7 separate regions of the Homo sapiens genome follow, and all the other regions are linked to region 7. Evidence: promoter capture Hi-C in 16 types of primary human blood cells and fetal thymus (Javierre and others, 2016). All regions are on one chromosome and are shown on one strand. The core of a region is centred on a gene start or on the middle of the fragment in contact, and the rest is flanking DNA. Distances in the headings are between cores, read along the strand shown.

Evidence for each region. The method cuts DNA at HindIII sites, captures the fragments that hold promoters and counts their contacts. A CHiCAGO score of 5 or more calls a contact.
Region 1: a fragment that was not itself captured here is called in contact with the fragment with the promoter of GRPR in region 7 in 3 of 17 cell types (M0 macrophages, naive B cells and M1 macrophages); the score reaches 6.2 in M0 macrophages.
Region 2: a fragment that was not itself captured here is called in contact with the fragment with the promoter of GRPR in region 7 in 3 of 17 cell types (M0 macrophages, monocytes and M1 macrophages); the score reaches 7.4 in M0 macrophages.
Region 3: a fragment that was not itself captured here is called in contact with the fragment with the promoter of GRPR in region 7 in 4 of 17 cell types (total B cells, M0 macrophages, naive B cells and 1 more); the score reaches 6.5 in total B cells.
Region 4: a contact is called between a fragment that was not itself captured here and the fragment with the promoter of GRPR in region 7, in 1 of 17 cell types (neutrophils). The highest score is 5.4, in neutrophils.
Region 5: a fragment that was not itself captured here is called in contact with the fragment with the promoter of GRPR in region 7 in 1 of 17 cell types (total B cells); the score reaches 7.1 in total B cells.
Region 6: a fragment that was not itself captured here is called in contact with the fragment with the promoter of GRPR in region 7 in 7 of 17 cell types (total B cells, monocytes, naive B cells and 4 more); the score reaches 9.7 in total B cells.

What each region holds. Positions count from the first base shown.
Region 1 is chrX:15,800,488-15,804,684 of GRCh38, forward strand. It overlaps ZRSR2 (zinc finger CCCH-type, RNA binding motif and serine/arginine rich 2), which reads left to right. Exons shown (of 11, transcript NM_005089.4): 4 at 3,201-3,309; 5 at 3,624-3,710. Among named protein-coding and RNA genes, the nearest start is that of ZRSR2, 12 kb to the left of the region's middle. The HindIII fragment of the contact is 3,030 bases long and covers 1,064-4,093 here.
Region 2 is chrX:15,784,389-15,788,546 of GRCh38, forward strand. It overlaps CA5B (carbonic anhydrase 5B), which reads left to right. Exons shown (of 8, transcript NM_007220.4): 8 at 1-4,023. CA5BP1-CA5B (CA5BP1-CA5B readthrough) reads left to right here. Exons shown (of 12, transcript NR_160544.1): 12 at 1-4,023. It overlaps INE2 (inactivation escape 2), which reads right to left and starts at 3,201. Exons shown (of 1, transcript NR_002725.2): 1 at 1,328-3,201. The HindIII fragment of the contact is 701 bases long and covers 2,074-2,774 here.
Region 3 is chrX:15,859,269-15,863,254 of GRCh38, forward strand. No RefSeq gene overlaps it. Among named protein-coding and RNA genes, the nearest start is that of AP1S2, 6.4 kb to the left of the region's middle. The HindIII fragment of the contact is 408 bases long and covers 2,418-2,825 here.
Region 4 is chrX:15,820,850-15,824,844 of GRCh38, forward strand. It overlaps ZRSR2 (zinc finger CCCH-type, RNA binding motif and serine/arginine rich 2), which reads left to right. Exons shown (of 11, transcript NM_005089.4): 11 at 1,882-2,411. The coding sequence ends at 2,393. Among named protein-coding and RNA genes, the nearest start is that of AP1S2, 32 kb to the right of the region's middle. The HindIII fragment of the contact is 3,614 bases long and covers 238-3,851 here.
Region 5 is chrX:15,669,146-15,673,416 of GRCh38, forward strand. It overlaps a transcript of CLTRN not described here. Among named protein-coding and RNA genes, the nearest start is that of CA5BP1-CA5B, 4.2 kb to the right of the region's middle. The HindIII fragment of the contact is 2,251 bases long and covers 1,866-4,116 here.
Region 6 is chrX:15,840,300-15,844,541 of GRCh38, forward strand. The region is part of intron 4 of AP1S2 (adaptor related protein complex 1 subunit sigma 2); the gene reads right to left. Among named protein-coding and RNA genes, the nearest start is that of AP1S2, 12 kb to the right of the region's middle. The HindIII fragment of the contact is 4,648 bases long and covers 1-4,242 here.
Region 7 is chrX:16,121,303-16,125,590 of GRCh38, forward strand. GRPR (gastrin releasing peptide receptor) reads left to right here and starts at 2,263. Exons shown (of 3, transcript NM_005314.3): 1 at 2,263-3,064. The coding sequence starts at 2,652. RefSeq lists an enhancer at 1,964-2,258. The HindIII fragment of the contact is 8,500 bases long and covers 1,310-4,288 here.

The DNA of each region.
Region 1 (4,197 bases), core at 1,329-3,828, 320 kb before region 7:
GTAATTGTTTTTGAAAACAGAAAAAAAACAAAAAAAATTAACAAATGTAAAAAGGGAAAAGACTTTAATAATTGCAACACACCCAAAGATAGCCACTGTTAAGAAAGAGAAAAAGAAAGTGTAAATGTACTTTACGTGTGTCTTTCTATAATGGCATGATATTTATACATATTTTTCTATAAATTGCTTTCTTGCTAAATATATAGTGCATTTATTTCAGTACTGATGCAGGGATCTAATTCAGCCATTTCAGTGGCAATACAGTACCCACTGTACAGATGTAGCATAATTTATTTGCTATTCATAGTTTATTCATTTATAATTTATAGTTCTCTACTGATGGACTTTCAGGTTATATTGGTTTTTCACTCATATGTAAAAAGTTGCAGTAAGCATCCATGCTTATATATCCTTGGTAATTGTCCAGTTATTTCCTTAAGAACATGACTAAAAATGAGATTGTTGGAATCAAATCATAAGTCCATGTAAAATGTAGATGGCCAGGTAGAAAGGGCTTCCTGGTTTGCAGTTTGCAGCCCTTCTGGCAGTGAATGTAGGGGCCCATCTCCCCATACCTTCACTCATACTAGGCATTATCAGTTTATAAAACTATAATGAAACTGTTTCAAATGCACATTTCTGAATTAGGTAGAGTATCTTTTTATATGTTTTATTACCTATTTGTAGATTGCTCAAGTCTCACACCTTTCTCTTTTGGGATACATGTTTTTTTAAAATTTGTTTTTGTTTTGTTTTGTTTGAGACGGACTCTCGTTCTGTCACCAGGCTGGAGTGCAGTGGTGTGATCTCCGCTCACCGCAACCTCCACCTCCCAGGTTCACACGATTCTCCTGCCTCAGCCTCCCGAGTAGCCGGGATTACAGGCACGCACCGCCACACCCAGTTAATTTTTTTTTGTACTTTTAGTAGAGATGGGGTTTCACCATGTTGGCCAGGATGGTCTCGATCTCTTGACCTCATGATCTGCCCGCCTCGGCCTCACAAAGTGCTGAGATTACAGGTGTGAGCCACCGCGCTCAGCCGAAATTTCTTAATGTCTCTAAGCTTCTATTTCCTTGTCTGTAATATGGAGATAAAGTCAATCACAGTATCCACCTCACAGAATTGTGAAGATTAAAGGAGGTGATGGATGTATAGTGTTTAACACAGTGTCAGCAGATGAGAGGTGCTGTGATAGCTCTAGTTCTTATTATTATAGATTTCTGTTATGATGAAGACAATAGATACGGTATGAAATAAGAGAGTAATTTTTTTCCTGTTTATTTGAAATGCTTCTTTTAAATCACATACATGTATCTTTGTGCTCCTTAGATCTTTATTTCTTTATGAGTTGCATACTATTATTGAAAAGCAAGAAAATTATGTAAAAATACTGTATGACTTTATGTCCTATTTCAAAGCAGATGTATATTCAAGTTATTAAATTTTAAAATTTTTAACATTTTACTTTCTTGTGGTCTTAATTTATATATCATTTGGTTCATTTATATACAATTATATGTTTTTCAAAAGATTTGTAAATCAGAGTTGTGCCCACTGAAACATCTATATGGTACCCTCACACATGGCATAGGAACACTGATAGATGCAATGTGCCAGCCTCTGCCATGGCTAAAAGATGTGTTCCTGGAATCTGTATTTGGAAATGTAATATATTTTATTTAAAATTGTGGTTAGGTCCCCAGACTAGACATAAAACTTTACTGAACTCCTAATACTGCTGAAGTAATATAGAACAGTTTCTCATATTTAATTTCCCTTTTATAAATTCAGTGGAAGAATGAATTTGAGGTTCTACACACCTAATTGGCAGGTAGACTTTGGCAATCTAACCCCCTCTTTATATTAGAAATTTGTGATATTGGATGTCTGAGACACTTGCCACTTTAAGGTAATACCACTCATTATAATTGGTCATATAAAAAATAGACTAGACACTCACTAATTTATTTTTATTTTTTCATTTTTTGAGACGAAGTCTCGCTCTGTCACCCAGGCTGGAGTGCAGTGGCATGATCTCGGCTCATTGCAAACTCCGCCTCCCAGATTCAAGCGATTCTCCTGCCTCAGCCTCCCAAGTAGCTGGGATTATAGGCGGCTGCCACCACGCCTGGCTAATTTTTGTATTTTTAGTAGAGATGGGGTTCACCATGTTGGCCAGCCTGGTCTCAAATTCCTGACCTCAGGTGATCCGCCCGCCTCAGCCTCCCAAAGTGCTGGATTACAGGTGCGAGCCATTGCGCCCGGCCCTCACTAATTTATTTTTATAACTCCATTTCTTAAAACCTGTAGCTTTATTTTAAAAACATGATTACAATGTACTTTTATTTTCCTTCTTTTGGCTGTTTAGGTGTTTGGAGGCAAACCACAGGAGTCTCTTAACTGTGTGTAGTAGTAGTCCAAAGGTTTATGGCAAAGGATACTGGGTTTTCAGCGTGCTGCCATCATGGAATTGCTACTTTTAAGAATAGGGGCTGGGTGCAGTGGCTCACACATGTAATCCCAGCACTTTGGGAGGCCGAGGCAGGTGGATCACTTGAGGTCAGGAGTTCGAGACCAGCCTGGCCAACATGATGAAACGCTGTCTGTACTAAAAATACAAAAATTAGCCTTGCGTGGTGGTGGGCACCTGTAATCCCAGCTACTCGGGAGGCTGAGGCAGGAGAATCACTTGAACCCGGGAGGCAGAGGTTGCAGTGAGCCAAGATCATGCCACTGCACTCCAGCCTGGGCAACAGAGTAATACTCTGTCTCAAAATAAATAAATAAATAAAAATAAATGCATAGAATAGGAAGGGAAATGCTTTCTGAATATGAAAAGGTAGATGCTGCTTTGAAACTTGCTACCCATTTTATTGTCACCTAAACATCACTGTGATCAGTCTAGAGGGAAAGTCATAGTGTCCTTTTTTCTGTAAAGTATGTCACAGCCATATATACCTATGAAATGTAAGAGAGATTTTAAGTTATTACCCATTAGGAAGATAGTTGCTGACACGTGGTGCTTTTCCAAAAGCTCTGCTCTTCTCGTTCTCTTACACCCACTTGACTGCTTTAATAGAAAATAGCTTTCGTGATATTTGAATCAGTCCCAAAATGTGTCATTTTGCTCTCGTGTGTGTGTGTATTTGTGGATTAATGCCCATTTCTTTTATCTGATTACATCATTATACTGATAGGCAAAGATTACATGAGGAGTGGTTGCTAAGAGAGCAGAAGGCACAAGAAGAATTCAGAATAAAGAAGGAAAAGGAAGAGGCGGCTAAAAAACGGCAAGAAGAACAAGAGGTATGGTAGGAATCACGTAACTAGTGAACAAACTGATTACTTCACCATAATAACTCTCATGAAGAGTTGCCTATCTTGGGAGGTTGGAGTGAGCTGAGATCACGCCATTGCACTCCAGCCTGGGCAGCAAGAGCGGAACTCCATCTCAAAAAGAAAAAAAAAAAAGAGTTGCCTATCTTGAACTTAAAAAAAAAAAACAAAAAACTGATCTTATTCAGTTTGCCAGTGTTTTAAGTTTTTCATCTATGTGCGCTGTATGTGAAATGTTTTTAAAAAGTGACTGAAACAAAGTTACTTTTTCTTCCCCTTTAAAGAGAAAGTTAAAGGAACAATGGGAAGAACAGCAGAGGAAAGAGAGAGAAGAGGAGGAGCAGAAACGACAGGAGAAGAAAGAAAAAGAGGTGATTCCTGTCATGGGATGTGCTGTGTGATGAGTTTGAAGAATAATCAGTAGGCATGTCAGAGTTTGGGTTTTTTTTTTCTCTTTTTCTTGTCATTTCATTGTTTGTTTGGAAAGAATCATATTTCAGTTTAGACATAACACCAGAGTTCCCTTCTGATGCTCTTCTTCGGGTCCGTGCAGTGGCAGATTCCTTAAAGTTTTCTTCAGCTTTACCCTATTTACCCTTTATACTGGGCATTGGCAAATGTTGTAAAGGGCCAGATGGTAAATATTTTAGGCTTTATGGTTTGGTCTCTGTGGCAAACATCCAACTCTGCCAGTGTACCCTGAAAGCAGCCATCGATAATATGTAGATGAATGGGTATGGCTGTGTTCCAGGAAAGCTTTATTTACAAAACAGGCAGCTAGCCCTTGCTTTATAGCAAGTTATGTTCTTCTGAGGTTCTGCTGTATATGAGTTGACTTCTTTAGAGAATAATACTTTG
Region 2 (4,158 bases), core at 1,174-3,673, 340 kb before region 7:
ATATCTCAGTTTATACAGTGGTTTAAAAGACTTTTGTTATGGTAATAGGGAGAGAAACTTGTCAGATAGGCTAAAATCTAGATAATTCTACATATTCTGAGGAATTCATGCTCCTGTGGCTCTTGCTTATAAATATCTTGGAATGTTTCTGAATGCCTCTAAGCCTATGTTCAGACTCTGTTGCGTCAATGACTGGTAGTATTTCTTTCATTAATATGTTTGTCATCTGGTCTGCAAGATAGGGTTGGATGAATATACTTAACACTACTGAACTGTACACTTAAAGATCGTTAGGAAGGAAACGGGACTACATCAAACTTAAAAATGTCTGTGTGTCAAAGGAAGCAATCAACAAAGTGAAAACGCAAGCTCTAGAATGAGAGAAAATAATTGCAAATCGTCTATCTTATAAGGAGCCCAAATCCAGAATATATGAGGAACTTCTACAACTCAACAACAAAAAACCAAATAACTCAATTTTTAAAAATGGGCAAAGGACTTGCACAGACATTTCTCCAAAGAAGTTATACAATTGGCCAATAAGAACATGAAAATATGCTCAACATTGCCAATTATTAGGGAAATGCAAATCAAAACCACAATGAGATATCGTCTCACGCCCATCATGATGGCCACTATCAGAAGAACAAAAAAATAACAAGTATTGGGGAGGATGCAGAGAAGTTGAAACCCTTGTGCACTGTTGGTGGTAATGTAAAACGGTGCAGTCATTACGGAAAACAGTACACAGGTTTCCCAAATAACTGAAAACAGAATTACCATAAGAATTACCACCAAAGCGGGATCTCAAAGAGATATTTGTACACCCATGTTCATAGCAGCATTATTCACAATAGCCAAGAGGTTCTGGAAGCATCCCAAATGTCCATCAACAGATGAATAGATAAAGGAAATGTGGTATATACAGTCAATGGAATATTATTCAGCCTTTAAAAAGAAGGAAATCCTGTCAAATGTACAATGTGGATGAACCTTGAAGGCATTATGCCAAGTGAAATAAGCCAGCCAACAAAAGAACAAATGCTATATGATTCCTCCATGTGAAGTATGCAAAGTAGTCAAAATCATACAATAGAAAGTAGAAAGGTGGTTGCCAAGCAACGGTTGGGGGAAGGGGAGAGGGTGAATTTGTATTTAGTGGGTACAGAGCTTGTGTTGCAAGAATTCTAGAGATCTGTTGCAAAACAAGTGTGATTGTACTTAACACTACTGAACTGTATACGTATAAGTTTGAGAAATATCTCTTTTAAAAAGGGGGAAATGTGAAGGCTTTTGCATGTATGCCCTAGGAAATGCATAGAATTCTTAGAAAGGTAAACATGGTAAAAAAAGAAGTCTTTGTTAACTTTCTGCAGTTCACCTGTTTCAAAGTATAGTTACCTTTAAAAGGGTAAACACACAAGATATGCATTTTCCAAAGCATACAGGCTTTCCTCCTAGCTGTCTTGTTTTTTATTTTTTTTTATTTTTTTTATTTTTTTGAGACAGAGTCGCGCTGTCACCCGGGCTGGAGTGCAGTGGCGCGATCTCGGCTCACTGCAAGCTCCGCCTCCCGGGTTCACGCCATTCTCCTGCCTCAGCCTCCTGAGTAGCTGGGACTACAGGCGCCCGCCACCACACCCGGCTATTTTTTGTATTTTAAGTAGAGACAGGGTTTCACCGTGTTAACCAGGATGGTCTCGATCTGACCTCGTGATCCACCCGTCTTGGCCTCCCAAAGTGCTGGGATTACAGGTGTGAGCCACTGTGCCTGGCCTTCCTAGCTGTCTTGTGAAACGATAAGTCAAAACCCTACTGCAGTGAGTTTTCCAAACTGAAGGGAGAAGCAATGTACAGAATGCCTGACTTGCCCTTACATCTTATACCTGGTGTTCTGGCATGATTATTAACCACACTCTTTTTCACTTTGAACCATGTCCTGGTTTGCATGGCCAGCTTCCCTGCAGAGGTGATAGAAACTGACTTGAGGCAGTTTCTTTCTCCATGCCTTAGTTAGATGACCCTCAAAGGGGCACAGCAGATTTCCCTGGCTACTGATACACCTTAACAAGAAGCTTGTGTTTTTTATGCCCTCAAAAGTGTTTTACTTATACTTTCCTAGACATAAAGGTGGAAAATGGGCCTAAGGTCTGTCAAAGGTCTTGGAAAAGAAGATTGTATTAAAATTGCTGTCCGTCTTCATTAAATAATACTAGATCGATACAATGCTTTCTTTACAGTATTAGTGGTTGGTGAAAGACTTCCTTCCTATTGTTACAGTATATGTATATATCTGTAAAATTAATGAGATATCCTTTAACTTGTAGATTAGAAAGCGACTAAAAACTCATAGGGGATTTACTAAAGAAGCAACAATGGGAAGAAGCAGCCGATCCTCCTCAGTGCACCTTTTTCTGTTGCACAGTACAGTGCACAGTGTGCTGGCATCACCATATAGGGCAAGCTGTGACCGCCTTTCTCCTTTCCCAGGGCTACATGGTGCCAAGCAGGTTCAGTGTACACTGGTTACCAACCTGTCTGATTCCATTGTGACAGAACACACTCACACCCAATACATTACATGAAGCAGATTTATTACTTACAGACAGGAAGCAAGGGACAAAAGAGGCCCTGGCTCCATTGTGAGCCAGTCCCCCAGGGCTCAAGAAAGCTGCCCAGGGCGGGGCTGATGGAGTCTTGATTGTACGTGCCCCACTTGCACCACAGCCTGCCTTGGGTTATATACCATAGGAGCCACATAACTCATTGGGCAAAGCTTTAAAGTACATCCTCCTTCCAGGGGAAAGAGGAACACAACCTCGCTGTCTCAAACAGTTCCCTAAATCAAGATGTTACATTCCCTAGGAGGGACAACAACAAGGCCAACCTGTTTCAGGCAGTTCCTCCATATCAGGATATTGCATTCCCAGTGCATTCTACAGTTATTCTTAAGAACTACAAGCAAGGAAGAAGGGAGAACTGGGTCAGTCCAAGGCCACCTGGAGAACTGTCTTGTACATGGGTTAGGGTAAAGTTGGCTATTCTAAAACTAAGCATCCGCCCAAAAGAAGTCTTGGAAGATGTCTTTCCCTGTTAAATTCAGATGATGGTAATTATAGTTTGGAAGTGGAATTGGCTTTTAGAGTTACTTCCTGTAATGAAATTAACAAGCAATTCAGGCCTATTTCTGAAAATGAATTCAGTGGTTAATTGTTAAAAATAAATGTCTAACTCCTATAAAAGGAAATTTACATTCATTTCTAACTCACTAAAAAATCTATGGCCGGGTGCGGTGGCTCATGCCTGTAATCCCAGCATTTTGGGAGGCCGAGGCGGGCAGATTACCGGAGGTCAAGAGTTCGAGAACAGCCTGGCCAATATGGTGAAACCCCGTCTCTACTAAAAAATACAAAAATTAGCCAGGTGGTTGTGGCATGCACCTGTAATCCCAGCTACGCAGGAGGCTGAGGCAGAAGAATCGCTTGAGCCCAGGAGGCGGAGGTTGCAGTGAGCCGAGATTTCTTAGAAGGAATTGTTACTTATTGTTCTGAAGTGAAAGTCTGGTCTGATTCAGAAGAAATGTTACAACAACTTAAACACTGATGCTTTCAGAACGGGCAGCAATTCTCAGCGTAAATTCTGATCACAGGGACCAGCAAAATTGGTGAGTTGCATAGCTACAACATTCTGTGCCATCCAGGGCACTCTAGTTTGGGGATACAACTGCCAAACCTCCAACTAGAGAGTTTAGTTTAAGATTTAGTCAAGAAGCAGAAAGGTAAAGGTGACAATGTGTAGTAAACCATGATAGATGTTATAAAAGGTGGAATACTTGTACTGGAAATGCATACAGCGCCTCATCCCCTCTTGAGGGGTCAGGAAGTTTTCACACTAATGATGATGGTGATGAGATGATGTAACAGCTAAAGTTTTGGAGGCATTCACTATTGCTAGGCACTGTATCAGCATATAACATGGCTTATCTTACTCAGTTTTCACAATAAAAGGGTTATGAGATGGGAACTATTATTACTATCTTGATTTTTACAAATGAGAAAACAGGAGTAGACATTAAGGAATTTACTCAAGATCACAGCCAACCAATGCACTGAGCTGGACAAGGTCAACTTGGGGGTGAAGGGCATATGTGTTGCTCCA
Region 3 (3,986 bases), core at 1,372-3,871, 260 kb before region 7:
GCAATATAAGAGAGAGATTCTGTATGTTTTAAACAAACGATTTCAAATAATGTCTTGATTTGATCCTTGAAGTGAAATGCTTCAACAATGATCTAACTCAACTCCAAATCGCTAAACCAGTGGTTCTAGAATATTCTTTTAGAGGACTTGTGAAAATACAGGTTGCTGGGCCTCATTCCCATAGTTTCTGATTCAGGGGGTCTGAGATGAGGCCTGAGAATTGCATTACTAACAAGTTTCCAGGTGATGCTGATGCTGCTGGTCTGGGAACCACACTTTGAGAACCATTGCTCTATACCACAAAAAGCTATGATATCCAACTAGAAAGTTGTGATATAATTTTCATGGTCTAAAGGAAACTTGAGATCTGAATATTTTTTTAATCGCTGACCTCATTAAGCCCGAGAACATTAGAAGAGTAATATTCCCAGTTATATTCACCTGAAGCTAAATCTGTATGTACAACTGAGAATGACATATGGTCATTGTATGCCCTGCACAATCTAATGCACTATAATATTCTTTTTTTTTTACTTTTTTTAAAATTATACTTTAAGTTATAGTGTACATGTGCACAATGTGCAGGTTTGTTACATATGTATACATGTGCCATGTTGGTGTGCTGCACCCATTAACTCATCATTTACATTAGGTATATCTCCTAATGCTATCCCTCCCCCTCCCCCCACCCCATGACAGGCCCCGGTGTGTGATGTTCCCCTTCCTGTGTCCATGTGTTCTCATTGTTCAATTCCCACCTGTGAGTGAGAACATGCAGTGTTTGGTTTTTTGTCCTTGCAATAGTCTGCTGAGAATCATGGTTTCCAGCTTCATCCATGTCCCTACAAAGGACATGAACTCGTCCTTTTTTATGGCTGCATAGTATTCCATGGTGTATACGTGCCACATTTTCTTAATCCAGTCTATCACTGATGGACATTTGGGTTGGTTCCAAGTCTTTGCTATTGTGAATAGTGCCGCAATAAACATACGTGTGCATGTGTCTTTATAGCAGCATGATTTATAATCCTTTGGGTATATACCCAGTAATGGGATGGCTGGGTCAAATGGTATTTCTAGTTCTAGATCCTTGAGGAATTGCCACACTGTCTTCTACAATGGTTGAACTAGTTTACAGTCCCACCAACAGTGTAAAAGTGTTCCTATTTCTCCACATCCTCTCCAGCACCTGTTGTTTCCTGACTTTTTAATGATCGCCATTCTAACTGGTGTGAGATGGTATCTCATTGTGGTTTTGATTTGCATTTCTCTGATGGCCAGTGATGATGAGCATTTTTTCATGTGTCTGTTGGCTGCATAGATGTCTTCTTTTGAGAAGTGTCTGTTCATATCCTTTGCCCACTTTTTGATGGGGTTGTTTGTTTTTTTCTTGTAAATTTGTTTGAGTTCTTCCTAGATTCTGGATATTAGCCCTTTGTCAGATGAGTAAATTGCAAAAATTTTCTCCCATTCTGTAGGTTGCCTGTTCACTCTGATGGTAGTTTCTTTTGCTATGCAGAAGCTCTTTAGTTTAATTAGATCCCATTTGTCAATTTTGGCTTTTGTTGCCATTGCTTTTGGTGTTTTAGACATGAAGTCCTTGCCCATGCCTATGTCCTGAATGGTATTGCCTAGGTTTTCTTCTAAGGTTTTTATGGGTTTAGGTCTAACATTTAAGTCTTTAGTCCATCTTGAATTAATTTTTGTATAAGGTGTGAGGAAGGGATCCAGTTTCAGCTTTCTACATATGGCTAGCCAGTTTTCCCAGCTATAATATTCTAAGGCAGAAACTGAAGTGCTTAGGGAAACTCGAAGGTTGCATCATAAAAGTCAGATGCTTACTTGATGAAAATCACTACCTTAAAAATATTTCCCAACTACTCATGGCAAGTAGGAGTCACCTCTGAAATACTTTGTCAGCAATTAAAGACATGGGGTAGAAAGGAAGAAGTCCAGAGGGAACAGCTAGACAGAATCAATGTGTCCCAGGGGTAAGGCAGAGACCAGAGACCGCTAAGTAGTAATCAAAACCTGCCCGTTCTCTTCCTTAGCACACAGCTAGACCTCATTCCGCTGCTTCCTCTGTAGTTAGGTGTGCCCATGGAGCTGAGATCTGGCCAATGAAATAGGAATAAAAGTGACAGGTCTAGCCTATAAAAAGCTCCCACAGGAAAGTCTGTTTCCTTCTTCCCTCCTTCCCTCCCCAGACCTGCTTTTGCCACTTGGATGATGACACCCAGGTATCCTGCCAGCCTGAGTTCCTGAATGACTGCAAGGAAGAGACGTACACAAACCACTACCACCATCATCACTCCTATTGTACTTGAAATGAATGAGAAATAACTTTGTATTAAGCCACTGATTTTTTTTCCCAGGTTCATTTGTTACAGCTGCAAGCATTCCTGTTCATTCTTGAAAGCTTGTTGCATACTTAGTTACAAAGAGAAGGAGCCATGCATAGTGATGGGAAGAGCAAGTGAATTTTCAAGTGGATACTTGATTCTAATCCTGCTTTTTGTGCTCTTTTATATGTCTCCCTTCCATTGAAATTTGAGAAGAATTGTTAAACAGTCTGAGCACAGAATTTTAAACTACTTGTCTATCAAAGAGGGCAAAAAGAATGATTTAAGGCTCTTTTTTACATTCCTCTGACAAAGCCTAGCATTAATACTAGGCAATAGAAAAGGCAAAATTTAAAAAATCGTAAGGCTGAAAGGGCTGAGGAAGTGAAGTGGGGTGGTGGGCAAGCACATTTGGGTAAACTGTCCCTAATTGGCAAAAGTGAATACAGTATTATCATCAACCTCTTAGAATCAAAAAACCAAAGCTTGAGATTTATTTTTGACTCTATTATATCCTTGTCTTCTAAATACTATACAAAAAGCTAAGTTAAAATATTTATCCTAAAGCACTATTTAGAATACAGGAACATTTTAATTAGATAATTTGATGAAAAATTTTAGAAATACTGTACACATTTTAAATATAACACATATATAAGATAATAGAATTTTAAAGGTAATTTTATTCAAGAATTTTATTTTACAAGTGAAGAATGAAGTCCAGAGAAGTTAAGCAAATTGTTCAAGATCATACCAGTTAGTGGCAAGTGGAGAAGTAAGACTCCTATGTTCTGTCTCCAGGCAATGTTCTTGCCACCACAGGACACTGTCTATTGCCCAGAAACTACTAGCCCATTATCTTTAGGCAAAAACAAACAAATAAATAAATAAACTGAAAAACCTTACCCTTGAAATGTAAACTCTTCAATTCTACTTCCTTTTGCCTTTCTGTCCAGTATTAAAGTATTTATGTCTTTACTAGCTGACTGAAATCCTTGCAATCTCCAAAACTGGGATAATATCTTAATAACTGCTTTATGGCATAACCTAATGCAATGCTTTGCATAGAGTAAGTACTCTAAAATGTTAATTAAGTTGAATTGTGGTGCCAAAAGAAGGTTTAGGCTGAGGGCAATGGCTCACGCCTATAATCCCAGCACTTTGGGATGCCGAGGCAGGCGGATCACCTGAGGTCAGAAGTTCGAGACCAGCCTGGCCAACATGGTGAAACCCTGTCTCTACTATAAAAACACACACACAAAAAATTAGCTAGGCGTGATGCTGCATGCTTGTAATCTCAGCTACACAGGAGGCTGAGGCAGGGGAATCACTTGAACCCAGGAGTTGGAGGTTGCAGTGAGCCGAGACCGCACCACTGCACTCCAGCCTGTGCAACAAGAATGAAACTCCTTCCCCACCCCCCCCAAAAAAAAGGTTTAATTGGGCCCTGTCTCATTACTTCTTGAGTGTATCAGTTTTTCTGGAGTATTCTCCTTCTTTCCATCCCCATTAATATTGCACTAGGTCAGACTAACAAACTGGACTTTATATCTCAGCTCATTCTCTCCACCTGATTCCATTATGGTTCTTTCTGCACATGGCCACATGCTTTTCTAAAACATAAATCCAATAGAGATTAAACCT
Region 4 (3,995 bases), core at 795-3,294, 300 kb before region 7:
ATGAATGCAGTCAGACTGACATCGGACAGTGGCAACCCAATCAGGAAATGATCCAGTCTTGTGCAGAATAGCCAGCAGTTTTGAAGGCCTAGTTATGTTCTGATTTCTCTCAGTGGACTGTTCCCTAGGTGAAAAGAGATGAGCTCTAAATGCCTCTGGGGAGCACTTATCTTACCGTTTACTTGTGTTTCTTTGCTGTATACATGCCTGCCTAACGCAAAGTCAGAATCTTTGGCAAGCTTGTCTTCCTTGGATTCTGTCATTCTGAAACCATTTATGAAGGGAAAAGAAAGATTTTAGGATTCCTGGCTAAGGGAAACCAGAAGAACCATTACACTTTAAAGGCTCGGGGGATGGAAGAGGTGGAATTGTTCGCTCCATAAAGGCAGTTACTTTTGTCAGTTCCTGGGAATCCAGTGTGAGTTCAGTGAGGAGCTTCTGAGTGTGACCTTGACTCCTCCAAAGCAGGGGACTATTTCATTAAAAAAAAAAAAACACTTTATTTTCCTTATTGACTAAAGACACTGAGCATCTTTTCATTATTGGCCATTTGTATGTCTTCTTTGGAGAGATGTCTGTTTGGATCCTTTGCCTATTTTCTAACTAGGCTCTTTGTCTTTTTATTATTGAGTTGTAAGAGTTCTTGGTATATTCTCCATACAAGTACCTGGTCACAAATATGATTTGCAGATATTTTCTCCCATTTTGTAGGTTCTTTTCACTTCATGTTCTTTTGAAATACAAGTTGTAAATTTTGATGAAATCCAACTTAACTATTTTTTTGTTTGTTTTGGTGTCACATCTAGGATGACATTGCTTAGCCCAGGGTCACAAAGATTTACTTGTATGTTTTCTTCAAGGTCATAGTTTCATTTCTTAACATTTAGGTCTTGGATACAGTTTAATTTTTGTATATAGTATGTGGTACGGAGGTATTTCACTTCTAACTGTTGTGCATATCTGGGGAATTTACTGCTTTTAAAAAACGTTTGAGAACCCCAAAGATCTCAAAATTGTTCGAATAGATTTTATCTGTGATAAGAATCTTCTGTATTAAAAGCACTTAGTGAATTTGAAGCATTAGTGTAATGTTTATAATCTTAAAGTTTAAAGAAAATATAGACTCCTCTATGTTTAATAGGCCTTCTCTTTTTTTTTTGAGAGTGAGTCTCACTCTGTCGCCCAGGCTGGAGTGCAGTGGCATAATTTTGGCTCACTGCAACCTCCACCTCCTGGGTTTAAGTGATTCTCATGCCTCCGCCTCCTGAGTAGCTGGGATTACAAGCGCCTGCCACCACGCCCAGCTAATTTTTGTATTTTTAGTAGAGATGGGGTTTCGCCATGTTGGCCAGGCTGGTCTCAAACTCCTGACCTCAGGTCTGTGCCCGCCTCAGCCTCCCAAAGTGTTAGGATTACAGGTGTGAGCCACCGCACCTGGCCACGCCTTCTCTTTTGACCAGTGGTTCTGGCCTGTTTCCTCCATGCCATCAAACCGTGCTACCACAGGGACCCAAAGAGCTGGCTATTTGATGTTAATCAGGGATCAAAATCGTCAATCAGTGGGAAGGTGAAACCTGGAGAAGATAACGTGGTCACCATTTGCTCAGTTGCAGTCTGCACCATAATCCAACAGGGGCACAGGCTATTCTGCTTAATGAAAACTTCTGATTTGTTACCTTTCAGAGTGTCATTTATTAGAGCACGTTTGAAATCGTGGGAACCAAATTATGACATCAATTTATGTAAGCCCCTTTTACATAATACACAGTAGAAAATAGTTCTAGCATATCCAAATATCAGAAATGTACCTTCGGAAAAGGATAAAGTAGCATCTTCAGAATATGCAGTGATAAGTGCTGTTTCATCACTGTGCCATTGCAGGTTTATTTGAAATACAACAATGTCCAAGAGGAAAGCACTGCAACTTTCTTCATGTGTTCAGAAATCCCAACAATGAATTCTGGGAAGCTAATAGAGACATCTACTTGTCTCCAGATCGGACTGGCTCCTCCTTTGGGAAGAACTCCGAAAGGAGGGAGAGGATGGGCCACCACGACGACTACTACAGCAGGCTGCGGGGAAGGAGAAACCCTAGTCCAGACCACTCCTACAAAAGAAATGGGGAATCCGAGAGGAAAAGTAGTCGTCACAGGGGGAAGAAATCTCACAAACGCACATCAAAGAGTCGGGAGAGGCACAATTCACGAAGCAGAGGAAGAAATAGGGACCGCAGCAGGGACCGCAGCCGGGGCCGGGGCAGCCGGAGCCGGAGCCGGAGCCGGAGCCGCAGGAGCCGCCGCAGCCGGAGCCAAAGTTCCTCTAGGTCCCGAAGTCGTGGCAGGAGGAGGTCGGGTAATAGAGACAGAACTGTTCAGAGTCCCAAATCCAAATAAACTAGTTTTGTTCTTAAATGATTGTATATCTTATTTATTATGGTTGCTACATACTCGGATAGAAGGCTATGAACGCAGATGGGTTCGCAAGTCTGGCTGAACCCTGTGTAGCCTGGAATTCTATTTAAAAATATTTTTATTCTCTTATAATCATGAAGTATGGTTAGTATAGAAAACATAAAATACATAAATAACAACATGAAAATTACTTGTAATCCTAACCCTGAGAGAGAACTAAACATTGGAGCATTGTTTTAGTGTGTACACTTTTTTCTTTTTTTTTAGAGATAGGTTCTCACGAGCAGTGGCGTGATCATAGCTCACTGCAGCCTCAAACTCTTGGGCTCAGGTGATCTTCCCATCTCAGCCACCCAAGTAGCTGAGACTACAAGGTACACACCACCACACCTGGCTAATTTTTAAACATTGTTTTGTGGAGACAGCGTTTTGCCATGTTGCCCAAGCTGGTTTTGAACTCCTGGGCTCAAGTGATCCTCCCACCTTGTCTTCCCAAAGCGCTGGGATTATAGGTGTGATCCACCACACCCAGCCCTATGTACACATTTTTTAATACAAAGAACACATATGAATGCAGTTGAATATGCTTTTATTCACAAGAAGCAGTCATACTTCATCAAGCCCTATTCTTCGTTTTACTCACTGCACAATATGGATCAGTTTTTTCAACCATATCCTCATTGTTAGATTTTTAATTTTGTACTATTCAAGAATCCTGTGCTGAAATCAATCCTGTGATGGATTTTCTTAAATACTTCCACATATTTTTGATCATTTCCTTAGGATAAATTGTATCAAGGACATGAATACTAAAATATTTCCAAGTTGCCTGCCAGAAGACTATAAAAAATTTATTATGTCAATAAACTTTGCTGCTCCCACAACGCCAAGTAATTTTAATCCTTACCAATTTGATAAATTTTATGTGTTCATATATTTAATGTTTTTTTATTCTTGTTGGCCCCCTACCCCTTTTTTTAGAGACAGGGTCTTGCTATGTTGCCCAGACTGGAGGGCAGTGGCTGTTCACATGATCATTGTGCACTGTAGCCTCAAACTCCTGGGCTCAAGCGATCTTCTTGGCTCAGCCTCCTGAATATCTGAAACTACAGGTGAGCCCTGCTTGTTTGCCTTTTATTAATAATCTATTGGATTTTTCTATATGTAATAGCTGAACAGCTTTTTTGCTTTAAAGTTCATTTTCTCAGTTTTAAAGTACTGATGGGCAAAGTCCATTTTTTTTCCTCCTACTCTTCAGCTGGGGGCTGTCGTGTACTTTTTTAAATAGTGTGTTGGAAAGTTCTTTATATAGGAGTAAAGTTTATTTTTGTCATTTCCAGGAATATTAGGGTCATTGGTACTAAATATGCCTAGTGTTAAAGCAATCCTGGTATAAAAATCTCAACAGAATGGTCAGAGAATAGAACCTAATGCAGAAAAAGCTTCAGGCAAAATATTATACCTAGATTTCTGATCATAAATAAGATGCTCTCCAGCTTTATCAATTTTTTGTCGCTTTCTTTCCATTGACATATTTGGGATCTAGAATTTTGGAGTATGTGACATTTTTCAATTTGAGATTTG
Region 5 (4,271 bases), core at 1,741-4,240, 450 kb before region 7:
TAAATGGAAAACAGAACTAGATACTAGGGTTCTTGCCTCTCAGCATATTATATTTTCCTATACTTTTCAAAGTCTTGCACAAATTTAGTGCTTGTCTTGATGTACAAGTTTTAAGTAGTAAGTTTCCAGAGCCTTCATATCTGTATAAATTGCTTCATAAAATGCTCATTTCAGCAATTTCACATATGGGAGCTTCATAACTTATTAGTAACCATGGTAATGATGACAAATAAAGCAGTTCAATCATTCTGAATATGTTACTATTTACTTCCAAACGTTCAGAGTTTAGAGCATGTAGATTTAAAAGTTCAGATTACTGTTGCCATGAGCCACACAAAAGGGCACTGAGTCTCCTGAGATGGGAAAACGAAATTGATTTCTCCGTGTTTTTTATACTCCACAACACTCTTGAAAAGCACTTTCTGGGCACATAACTATGGATCTACTGCTCTGGGGTAAACAGAATATGAGATCACATGAAAAGAAAACACATGTGTCGTTCTTTTGATTCATGCAAGATCCCTTAAGTTCACTAGATTCGTATAAATACGTGGGCGTATGTAGGCTCCATTCACCTCCAATAAAGCAAGAGGTGGAGATGACCAATGTTTCTTTTAAAATTGACCCTGGTTATTTTGTTTCATTATCAAAAACAGAAATTTAGTAAATATATAGCTCCTAAAATTAGTAAACTGTAAAACCATCTCAAATGTGACATTATTCTGTATATTTTTATTGGATTTTCAGAAATGTTATCTGGCTGTGACACATTAAAAGAAATCAATTAAAACTTTTAATAATTGAACATAGAAACTTTGTATAAGATTTTAAAACTTCACACTTTTTGCTGCTGGGCATGGTGGCTCATGCCTGTAATCCCAGCACTTTGGGAGGGCGAGGCAAGCAGATTGCTTGAGTCCAAGAGTTCAAGACAGGCCTGGACAACATGGCGAAACCCCCTCTCTACAAAAAGTACAAAAATTAGCCAGGCTTGGTGGCATGCACCTGTGGTCCCAGCAACTTGGAAGGCTGAGGCAGGAGGATCACCTGAGCCCAGGGAGGTTGAGGCTGCAGTGAGCCATGATTGTGCCACCACACTCCAGTCTGTGTGACAGAGCGAGACTCTGTCTCAAAAAATAAAAAAAACAAAAACCAAAAACAAAACACACACACACACACACACACACACACACACACACACACACAAACCCCTTTGGAAGTTTTAATATCTTAATTAAATGGCTCTACTCAATGATTTCCTAAATGTTGTAGAATTTTAATAAATGACATCCTTCCTTGTTTAAATTGTAATGAAATGGATATACTATATATAATAAACAATATCAAGATGTTTGTATTATTAATAATTTATACAATGTTTTCAGTATAATTAGGCAACAAAAATAATTTTATTCTCTTTAAATTGTCAGTGTTAAGATACATGGAGAGACAAAGTATTTTTGTCTATTGTGTGTAAGTTCTATTTTAACTCAGTGGTTTTCAATTGGGGGTGATTTTGTGCTCCAGAGACACTTGGCAACGTCTGGTGACATTTTTAGTCATCATGAATGGCAGATGAGAGGATTCTACTGGCATCTAGTGGGTAGAGGCCAGGGATGCTGCAAAACACCCCCACAAACTTTAAAAATGTCATTTAGGTAACTCTTTTCTTCTTGTAGTTGAGTTAATGGAAATAACCCACACAAGGAAGAACAGAAGAAAAAAGGGAGACAAGTGTGTGTGTGTGTGTGTGTGTGTGTGTGTGTGTGTGTGTGTGTGTGTGTGTGTGTGTGGTTTCTCTAAGGCTAAGAATGTAAAAATATATACATTGCAATGCATTTCATGGTACTTAATTTCCAGTCACAAGCTTATTAGAACTTCAGTTTATGATTCAAATTAGTCAACTCAGTTTTCTTAAACTATCATATTCATGGGCTACGAGAAATGCAAAAATGAACCAAATATAGTCTCTGCCCTTCAGGAACTTACAATTTTGTAGGACACAAAAGTAAATCACGATGGCAATAGATGCACATACAATTGTGAACAAAATGCTATAGGAACACTGGAGAAAAAGAGGATAAAAAGTTACTGGATTTGACAAGTCAATTATAAAACTGTTAACAAAAGAAAAATAGAAGAAAGGTTTCTCAATGATAATCAAGATAGACCTGGAACAATGGCAAGATGTTTAAAGATAAAACATGAAAGCCCACAGGATACAAGTTAAGGAAATCTGAAAACAAACACAAAGGACAGATACAGGATATGGCCAACAGCAGGGACTTGCTGGTAGAGTGGTTCAGAGGAAGATGGGGGAGAGAGCATCAGTGTAGATGCATCTGAAAAGCCAAGTTGGGTTCTGATCTTAGAGGTCAGAGAGTCTGGATTCTCCAACAATGGTCCTGAGAGGCTAATGAAGATTTCAATGTGGGAATGGGTTCATTGTAAATGACACAGAGAAGGACAATGGGAGATGGGAAGGACATTCCCTGACAGTGAGTTTCCAATGTGCCCTTTATTTACTAATCACAGGCTGTTGGACTGGCAGCCCACTACGTGCCCATGACTACAAAAAACAGGAAATTATTTTTCATTGGCCATCTTAATAAAAAGATAAATGAGCTTATTTTAATAATAATTTTAGAATATAGAACAGATGATGTTACAATCTTTTGGTATGCTTAATTTTATGCGCGCACACACACACACACACACACACACACACACACACACACAATTTCCAGTATCCTTGGTAAGCAAGAAACTCTATAATGTGGAATATTTTTGTCTCCATCACATATATCCCCTTTTTAAGATGAGAAATCATATTAAGCAAGGATATTTGAAAAGCTCATCAAATTTTGTAGGTTAATCAGTAGCCATAATCATTATGAACTTTGTCTTATTCTTCACAAGTTAACATTTTTCTACTTCAGAGAAAGTTAATCACTACCGTTTGGAAATAAAAATTAATTCAGATCAACTGAGTGAGTGTAATTCTGCCAACTTTATGCTCCTAAAGTAGCAATTTAAAGGACAGTTTCTTAAATGGGAAAAAAAAAGTATGTGTGTCTGTGTGTTTCATCTTGTGCATGGAGACCAATGCTTTATAATGGGTCTCATGTAGTTAAAGCAAGACATTTCTTTTACAGGTTTAGCTGGTTCCACTGTTGCTCAGGTGTAAGAGTTTTCTCATGATTTGGCAAGTCAATTTTCTCTTTTTACTAGGCTAACAGTATTGCAGCCATGGTCTATGAAATAGTATTTTCCATCCTTAATCATCAATTTGCCCACCAGTTGGAGGTCACCTAGTCACATTTAGCCCTGACAACAGGTACTTCTTTTGCCAACCTCTATAAAGGGTGTGGGGGCGGGGGCGGGATCAGACCACATAACTTTTAGGTTATATGCTCTCATTAATATTAAAGACATATGAATTAATCAATATCTCAGAATTTCTGATCCTACGTTTCGGCCAGTGATGACCCTGAACCCTCTACTGTCTGAAATTCATCAAAAGTCTTATGAGAAATGTTTTTGTGGACTGCCTAAAAGATGTGCACAAGAGATCCCTATTACTACAAATCAGAGATGACAGGTTGTTTGCAGCCATTTGCTCATCCCACACCCATGACAAACATTTTTTATCTATTTCAGAACTTTTTCCTTCTGTGCATGGACTCAGCCACCCCAACTGAGCTATTCAGTCCACTAATATGAATAAATGGGAGTTGACATGTGAGTTGAAACTTATGTGCCATTATGGGGAAAGATTATCTAAATGCTACCCTGAATTAAACCAGACCATTGTGGGGCTGTGTACTCAGTCGAACAGGAAATTTTGGATGGTTCATGAAATTGATTCAGTGCCCTGTGCTTTGTGATTATGCCAACAGTTTCCATTGAGGGAATGTGGGTGTAACAACTTATGACACTTATTTCCCACGTAGCTCACAGCGTCATCATGATGAGGAACTGGGATTTGCCTTGGGGCTAAAAATTATTTTTAAAAAAACAAACAGTGCTTCTCAAAAGCAAACAAAATCCTGATTGATTGGTTTTTATGAACACCGTAAAACTTTAAAATACTTGTTATCTCCTGTTTTCTATGGAAGCTTAGAGTGAGATCTCTTGCCCACCTTCAAAAACTGTTCTGGATCTGAAAGTGTGCATACTTGAGTGTTAATCTTACCATTGGCTACATTATTTATTCTCCCTCCATGAATTTCCCCTCTGGTTCCTTAAACTATAATACTTACTTTATACAG
Region 6 (4,242 bases), core at 678-3,177, 280 kb before region 7:
AGAAAGGTTGACACATCTCAAAGCACTAATCAACACCATCATGCATCAACCGCTAAGGGTTAAAGCCCAAATGCCCAGTATTTAACTATTTGATCTTCACGGATCAAGCAAGGACTTAGAAATCATCTCACGTGCAACAGTATTTGCATAGCACTCCATTTTATCCATGCCACAAAAATGGTAAATTTAGTAGTTACCAATAAATAAGTTGGGGATCAAAGGGACTAAAGCCTTAGACTGCTCTTTATCATAAGATATCCTCAGACAAACCTCCCCATTCTTCATTCTGGCTCTATAAAATTAAGGAGCAGAGAAAAACTGGTAAGTGCTTGACTTTACAGAAAAAAAGCCATACTATTATTTCCTTTGTCATTATATATGTGTGTGTTTAAATAAATCCAACTACATCACCACCCCCCACCATATCCCTCCAAAAATCTAGCTTAAAATAGGTGGTGGGGAAAAGTATTCCAAGTATTGCAAAGAATATCAATTTAGCAATTTCAGCATGTTGTACTTTAATAATTTAAGAATCATCTTTAGTACCAGTGGCATGTTAAGACAGCCAAACATTAAAAAATGGATAACGGGCCAATTTCTGGGCTTTACCCCCAAATCTAATTATGTATTCATACAACCAAACACCAAAAGGAATAAACATGAAGTTTGGTCTAGAAATGTCAAAACTAATCCTTTATTTACCAAGTAATGAAGTAAAATAAAAAAGATATCTTTATTATCTAATCACAATATCTGCTAATATTTTAGCAACTATTATTTGAATGTACATTTAATGTTACATTTTTATTACTAACTGTAATATGCTAACAGAAAATCTGTATCCACTGACCCTCTTCCCTATTTGGCTATAAAATGAAGGACTACCTTAAACTATGTGTTTATACAAATTGGGTAAGAGAAATTTTTTTTTAATTTTTCTGAAGAAAATAAGCATTCTTAAGGATAGAAATGTATATTTCACAAATTAAAAAAAAATCAAAATCATTGAGATGTGTATACACCTTTAAGCCAACAGATAAGTACATGATAAGTTCAAAGTCATCTTTGGTGCTTAGAAATAATCAATTCAAGTAAAAGACCTGACACTAAACAGAAAAATAATGACACATGAAAAAGTAGATTAAAATTGACCAATTAGGACTTCTACTACAAATGTAAGTCTGAATTTAGATCTTCACAGCTATATTTACAATTTTGGAAGCAAAATCATTTCATGAAATTGATTAAGTGAATGCTATACCCCAAACTATAAGACCAAAAAAGTTATTATAAATCCAGGCATTTTGATCAATCCAACAAGAAATAGGTTGAAAAATATTATTTATATCTACATATCCAATAAAAAATTCCAACTGCTGATAATCTGGACAATAAAAATTTGCAGTCTAAGAAGTCAAAGATGGCACTGTCTTAGGAAATCTACTCTTTTCCACACAGAAAAACCTCTGGGAGAATTATGAATTTCTCACTATATGACTGAGAAACAAAGAAGTTCATATCTAAAACAGAACGTTTAAAATATATATACCAAGACAATACATAACTGGGGTTAGGGGAAGTGCACAGTGGTTAAGATTTTACACAGCTGTGAAGCCTAGTAGATCTGGGTTTAGAATCCTGGTTTTGCCAGTTGCTAACCAGGTGGCCTCAGACCAGTCATGGAACCTCACTGAGATTCCACTTTCTCATTAGGCTACCTCTAACCTTTCACAGGGTGTCTTGAGGATTAGCACAGGATGCTTAAAGCAAACTGCTGAGCCCAGGGCCTCACATACAAGCACTCAAGCGTTAGTTACCATCATAATTATTTTTGTTGTCATGGTATCCAAAACAAAAAGTTTTCCAGCAGTTTGTGGAGTGCTTTTTCTCTTATTCCACTTGCTATTTTATGAACATAATATTCAAATACTCTCCCACAGATGTAAACTTGTATCATGCATCAAAAATATAAATGAATCTATTTTTAGGAAACATGCATCTTGCCATTCCTGCATTTCTTCTCAGAGTATGTTGATGAAGAGAACAGAATAACCTGAAGCCTTACTGCTCCACACAGACTTGAGCTTGGCTTCATAATGGCCTTAACCTACGATGTATTCTCACTCTAAATTCAGAATGGACCACCACCTACTGCTTCCCCAAGACCTACATGGCTAAGAAAAATGGTTCACTCAGACTGCTAAATAGACAATGTCTCAATGTGGTACTCAGTTTCGTTTGTGTACAAAGCAATGTAAAAGTAGTCATAGAAGAGAAACAGGACCACAGCTTTCTTCTAAAGACAAGGAACTGTAATTAACAGTACTCATTTCTTTATTTTAAACAAAGGTTACAAGGGGGTAAGGAAAATTTTACATGGGACCAACCATACTCATCCTATGCTTTTCTCTTTGCACTTACTTTCCCCAATTAAAGACATAAAAATAGGCTGGATGCGGTGGCTTACGCCTGTAATCCCAGCACTTTGGGAGGCCGAGGTGGGTGGATCACCTGTCAGGAGTTTGAGACCATCCTGGCCAACATGGTGAAAGCCTGTCTTTACTAAAAATACAAAAATTAGCTGGGCATGGTGGTGTGCACCTGTAGTCCCAGCTACTTGGGAGGCTGAGGCAGGAGGATTGCTTGAACACAGGAAGCGGAGGTTGCAGAGAGCCGAAATTGCACCACTGCACTCCAGCCTGGGTGATAAGCGAAACTCCATCTCAAAAAAAAAAAAAAAAAGACATAAAAATAGTACTTCAAACAGAAGGACAATATTAACTATTAAAATACTCCCATAGGGGAATATATATACATATGTACATATACACACACAAATAAATGTGGATCTGCAATAATGTTCTTATCCCCTAGTACATTAAATACTGAATATATGCTCTAAGGTAAACTTAACATTGCTGTCATATTCTAAGGCCCATAGCAATTTCCCAGTAGCATTTAAAAATCCAGGCACAGCTGGGTGCAGTGGCTTACACCTTTAATCCCAGCACTTTGGGAGGCCAAGGGGGACGGATCATTTGAGGTCAGGAGTTCGAGACCAGCCTGACCAACATGGTGAAACCCTGTCTCTACTAAAAGTACAAAACTAGCCAGGCATGGTAGTGCAAGCCTGTAATCCCAGCTACTCGGGAGGCTGAGGCAGGAGAATCGCTTGAGCCCGGGAGGCAGAGGTTGCAGTGAGCCAAGATCGTGTCATTGCACTCCAGCCTGGGCAACAAGAGCGAAACTCCATCTCAAACAAACAAACAAAAAATTACTCTCCAGGAAAAATATTAAAATTAAAAGTTGAACTTCAATAACTTTAAATACATTTTAAAGCCAATGTAATTAATCAGAAAATGATAGAAAAACTTGGAAGAAATGCCAGGTTCTGACAGAGCAGAATACAGATCTGTGACAAAATATGAAAGTGATCAAGGGAAGACCTATATGAAAAATTCCCAATTTCTAATCCTGGTTTTGACCTAATTTTTAAAAAAGTCTGATTAGTGAACAGCAAAATAAGGAGATACTAACTTTAAAAACCAATTTTACAACAGTAGAGTATATGCTTATAGTCAGCGCACCTGATATTAAAAACAAACCTCCAGAATAACATTTCCAATCAATTGGTAAACCACTGTGGCAAACTGTACACACAAGGCAAAAGGTCTGTGTTCATTTCACTACTGAAGAGTAGATGGCACCAGGGCTGCCAATCTAATACTTCACTTTTGCAGGCACCTTAACCACTCTTCTGATAACTACAAGATCATTAAGTGTACAATGCATTGTCTCACATTTAGTAGATGTCTATCCAGATGATGTCATCTCAACTTCAAGCAATCCCCACAACTGTCCCAGTCAGTGACTGATGCAGTGAGATTCTCAAACAGCTTTCCCTTCCTCACAGAGTCCAAGAGTTAAGAAGTTAAAATGGAGAAAGTAAGTTACTCTTCTCCCCTTATTTCACTCCCTTAAAACTGAATGCCTCCAAGGCTAAAAAATGGGACTGAAAGTCACCTTTGGTGACTAAAAAAAGACAAGAACAAACTGATAAACATGTATGTAACAAAGAAGGGACTAAAATAAACTGGAAATACAAAATCATATTTTCAATGCTTCTGGAAAATGAACCAGTGAGCCAAAAATATTCAAGACTTTTACATACATGCAAACACACACTTAACAACTACTTTAGTGAAAACACATTTCATTTTTCAATATTTACTAATCACTTCT
Region 7 (4,288 bases), core at 1,013-3,512:
AGCTATGAGAAATCAATATCTATCAGCATCCCCTTAACTTACATTGGAAGAAACACTAACCACCCAATTAGATTTAAGTAGTGAGGCTGACTCAGCACACAGGGGTGTCTAAAGAAATAAAGGGAAACAACATCCAGAAGTTCTCTTTGTGAACCAAAAATATGCCTTTTAGACCAAACTTCTTAGCAAGAATACAAGATCCATCACAATCTCACCCAAACCTGCTTCTAGCTGCATTTCACGCTGTTCTTTTTCCACCCCTGTCTTCCAATCTGGGTGACCCTCTGGATTTATAGATGTCCCTCTGCTCAATGTCATGCTCTTTCCTTTATGCCTTGATCCTAGGCACATATGATTTTCTTCATTCAAAAGACCTTGTCAACACTTAACCTTTAAAGATATCGTCTTTTCTGGAGAAAAGGTAGTTGCTTCACTCCAGAGAGGGGTTGGGGTCTAAAGAGCTGTGAGAGTACACATCTTCATGCTATTTTTCTCAGCCTCTTGCTCAGTGCCTGGCAACTGGTAGATGTTTGATAAATTTTTTTCAAGTAAATAAAGGAGTTGCTAATTCACTCGTATGAGTGCTTGCCTATTGATCTGAGGTCAATCACTCTTCTGAACTCATTGGGCTTTTCCAAAGTAAGCCTTTCCCCCTCAATCTAATAATGATAATAATAATAAGTGCTAATATTAATTGAGCACTTACTATGTGCCAAATACTATGCAATCTTAACATGAATCATTTCATCTAACTTCATAAGTTCTCCTCACCCTGCAGATGAGGAACCTGAAGCTTAAGACACTAAGTAACTTGCCATAATTATAAATGAGGGAGCCAGGATTGAAGCAGAGCCTGTGTACTGTATCATTAAGCTATATTGCTGGCAACTAATCAACACCACTGGGCTCATGGCTATTGGCTGGTTACTGGTGCTACTGATCTCTGCCGAGAAGCTCTTCCACCTCTAGCCATGCAGCATCAGTCTCCCTCCTGCTGGCAGAGAGGGGCGCTGAGCCTTTCATATTTACATAGAAAGCATGGCAGCAGCCTCAGTGTTGGAACCTGCCACTGGAAATGTCCATAACAACACAGTTGGGGGCTTTCTTTGTGGGCCCTGGCATGGTAAGTGCAAGTTTTGTTATTCCTTATGGGTTCTGAAAAATGAGACTTCACCTGTTAGTGACTGGCTTCACGTCATGTACCTGGAGGAGCTGGCTTCACATACGTCATAAAGATGCACTCTAATAATGTATTTAGAAGTTGTTGGCTAAAGGTCTAAGCCTGATTCTAATAGCACTTCCTCAATTAAGCTTTTTCTAGCACTCCTTCAACGATAACTTACTTCTTTTACCACCCACTCAATTCCTCAGTATTGTATCTATCACGCTTTTATAGTTCTTTATTTTCCACACAGGGCTATAAAGAGGATATTTGCTATAAAACATGGCAAACATTCAATTAAAAATGCAAATAGCTGCATCAAAATGCCGATTCATAAAATTTTTAGATCAGATGAGAAAAGACCCATTTTTCTGGAAAAGACTATTGATCATTGAGAGTTAAGAATACAGCTGGTTCCCAATTTAATTTCTCCCTGGTAAACAGAATAGGAATGGCTTGGCAAATCTACAGGAAAGAACATGTGTGCATTGTGCTTCTGGCTTTTCCAGATGTCAGTTGCTGAAGGTTTAAGGTGTGAGTCTGTGCATGTGTTTCTGAGGATCAGTCCCTGTTCAAAGAGGCAGTGGGAAGACTGAGTGGGATAACTCACACATGGACACCCTGTGCATCAGTGTGCGTTTAATTCAAAGACAGACCTCATTTGATAGCAATATTGACATGTCATTCTAATGAATTAGAAAAAATGAGAAAATGGGATGTAAATCCCCATCTGGATTCATGGGGATAGTATCAGAAAGATTTTCAGTGCCTTTGCAGAATGCTAGCAACATTTATTAAATACCTACCCTAGGTGCTATGTGCTTACATGAGAAGCCAAAGGTATCTGTTAAGCTAGGTAGGAACTGCAGTCGGCTGGTTGCTTCTCATCTGGAGAAAGCAGGCAACTGGGCAGTGATTGAAGTGTCCAGCAGGGGGCTGGCATTCTCTGTCTATAAGTAACACTGGTTCCTCTTCAGAGCCTCAGCTCAGCGGAGCTGCCGTTTGCTGGTGAAGCCCGTGACGTGCAAAGCATCCTGCCTATAGGATTTGAGGATTTCTCAGTGCAGTTTTTTTCTACCCACTTTAAACCTCCAGATTCTAAATATCAGGAAAGACGCTGTGGGAAAATAGCAGGCCAAAAGTTCTTAGTAAACTGCAGCCAGGGAGACTCAGACTAGAATGGAGGTAGAAAGAACTGATGCAGAGTGGGTTTAATTCTAAGCCTTTTTGTGGCTAAGTTTTGTTGTTGTTAACTTATTGAATTTAGAGTTGTATTGCACTGGTCATGTGAAAGCCAGAGCAGCACCAGTGTCAAAATAGTGACAGAGAGTTTTGAATACCATAGTTAGTATATATGTACTCAGAGTATTTTTATTAAAGAAGGCAAAGAGCCCGGCATAGATCTTATCTTCATCTTCACTCGGTTGCAAAATCAATAGTTAAGAAATAGCATCTAAGGGAACTTTTAGGTGGGAAAAAAAATCTAGAGATGGCTCTAAATGACTGTTTCCTTCTGAACTTGGAGGTGGACCATTTCATGCACTGCAACATCTCCAGTCACAGTGCGGATCTCCCCGTGAACGATGACTGGTCCCACCCGGGGATCCTCTATGTCATCCCTGCAGTTTATGGGGTTATCATTCTGATAGGCCTCATTGGCAACATCACTTTGATCAAGATCTTCTGTACAGTCAAGTCCATGCGAAACGTTCCAAACCTGTTCATTTCCAGTCTGGCTTTGGGAGACCTGCTCCTCCTAATAACGTGTGCTCCAGTGGATGCCAGCAGGTACCTGGCTGACAGATGGCTATTTGGCAGGATTGGCTGCAAACTGATCCCCTTTATACAGCTTACCTCTGTTGGGGTGTCTGTCTTCACACTCACGGCGCTCTCGGCAGACAGGTAAGTACAGGCTGAAAGTTACATGCTCTCCAAGGGTGATAGACGCCTGGGTAAATGAACTACCATGTCGGGACAGGGAGCTGATTGCACAAGGGAAGTTTTACTCAAACACGGATTCCCTTCCAGGCAGGTTTTTATTCTGGGTATGACTTCTTGAGTGTAACATATTGGTTTAAGAAAGAAAAGTGAATGATGGGGACAGAAGGAGACAGATGAGAAAAAAAAAATCTCTAAGCAGAAAACTGAGGTGCCTTTTTCTGGAGACATATCTATTTAGCATTGCCTTTTCCTAACTTCTCCCTCCTTGCAAAATTAATTGACCAGTGAGAAAGACAATCACACCCAATAGAGTTTAAACCTCAGGCAAATGTTTTTTAGGAGCAATTGAAACCCCTCAGAGAACAGGAAAGTTCCACTGGATTTCTTCAAAACGTTCTTTCAGAAATAACCAAGAGGAGAAAATAAGCCTCATTTCTCTGAAATTCATTTTCCTCAGACAGTTTAACTTTTCTCACAGCTGATTTTGAATTTGACTCTCTGTGATAGAACAATTGTATGCCGGTTTTCCTAAGTCTCTCTTAAATGAAATCAAACATTATTTGAGTTTTTAAAATTTTCTGGAGAAAGCTCTATTCAAGGTTGATTTCTAATTTTAATATCTTTATTGACAATACTTCATATACCATGCTTTTGGGGCTTATTGTGGGGAGGAAGAGGGAGTTCACTACAGTTTTTTATTCTGGGAAATATACATATTTGCAAACTGCATTTCTTGTGTGAGCACATTGCATAAAAGTTTACGTTTATTCAGTCTTAAAACTATATATTCATTCTTTGAACATTTATCAAGTGTCTAGCATGTAAGAAACACTTACCTGAATTAGCAAGTCAAGAAATAGCTGCAGGTTGTTCACATAAATTACTGAACATACTTTATGTACTTCTGTGTTCTGGAAATTGGACATAGTAATGAATAGACTTTCAGACACAGCATAGACCATATGGTCAAACCCAGAAAAACTGCTGCAATGAACCTAGACTATAAATTTTTCACTTATAATCAACTGTATGTTATGTGTTAAAGATACAGAAGGATTTGAGAGTGTTCTGGAAAAGACATAGATGCTGCTCTTGAAAGTTTATACTCCGAAGAAAATGTCCCACATTTTAATACATGTGGTGCTGGATTCTCATTTTGTAGAGGAACAAACAGTCCTCAGGTGA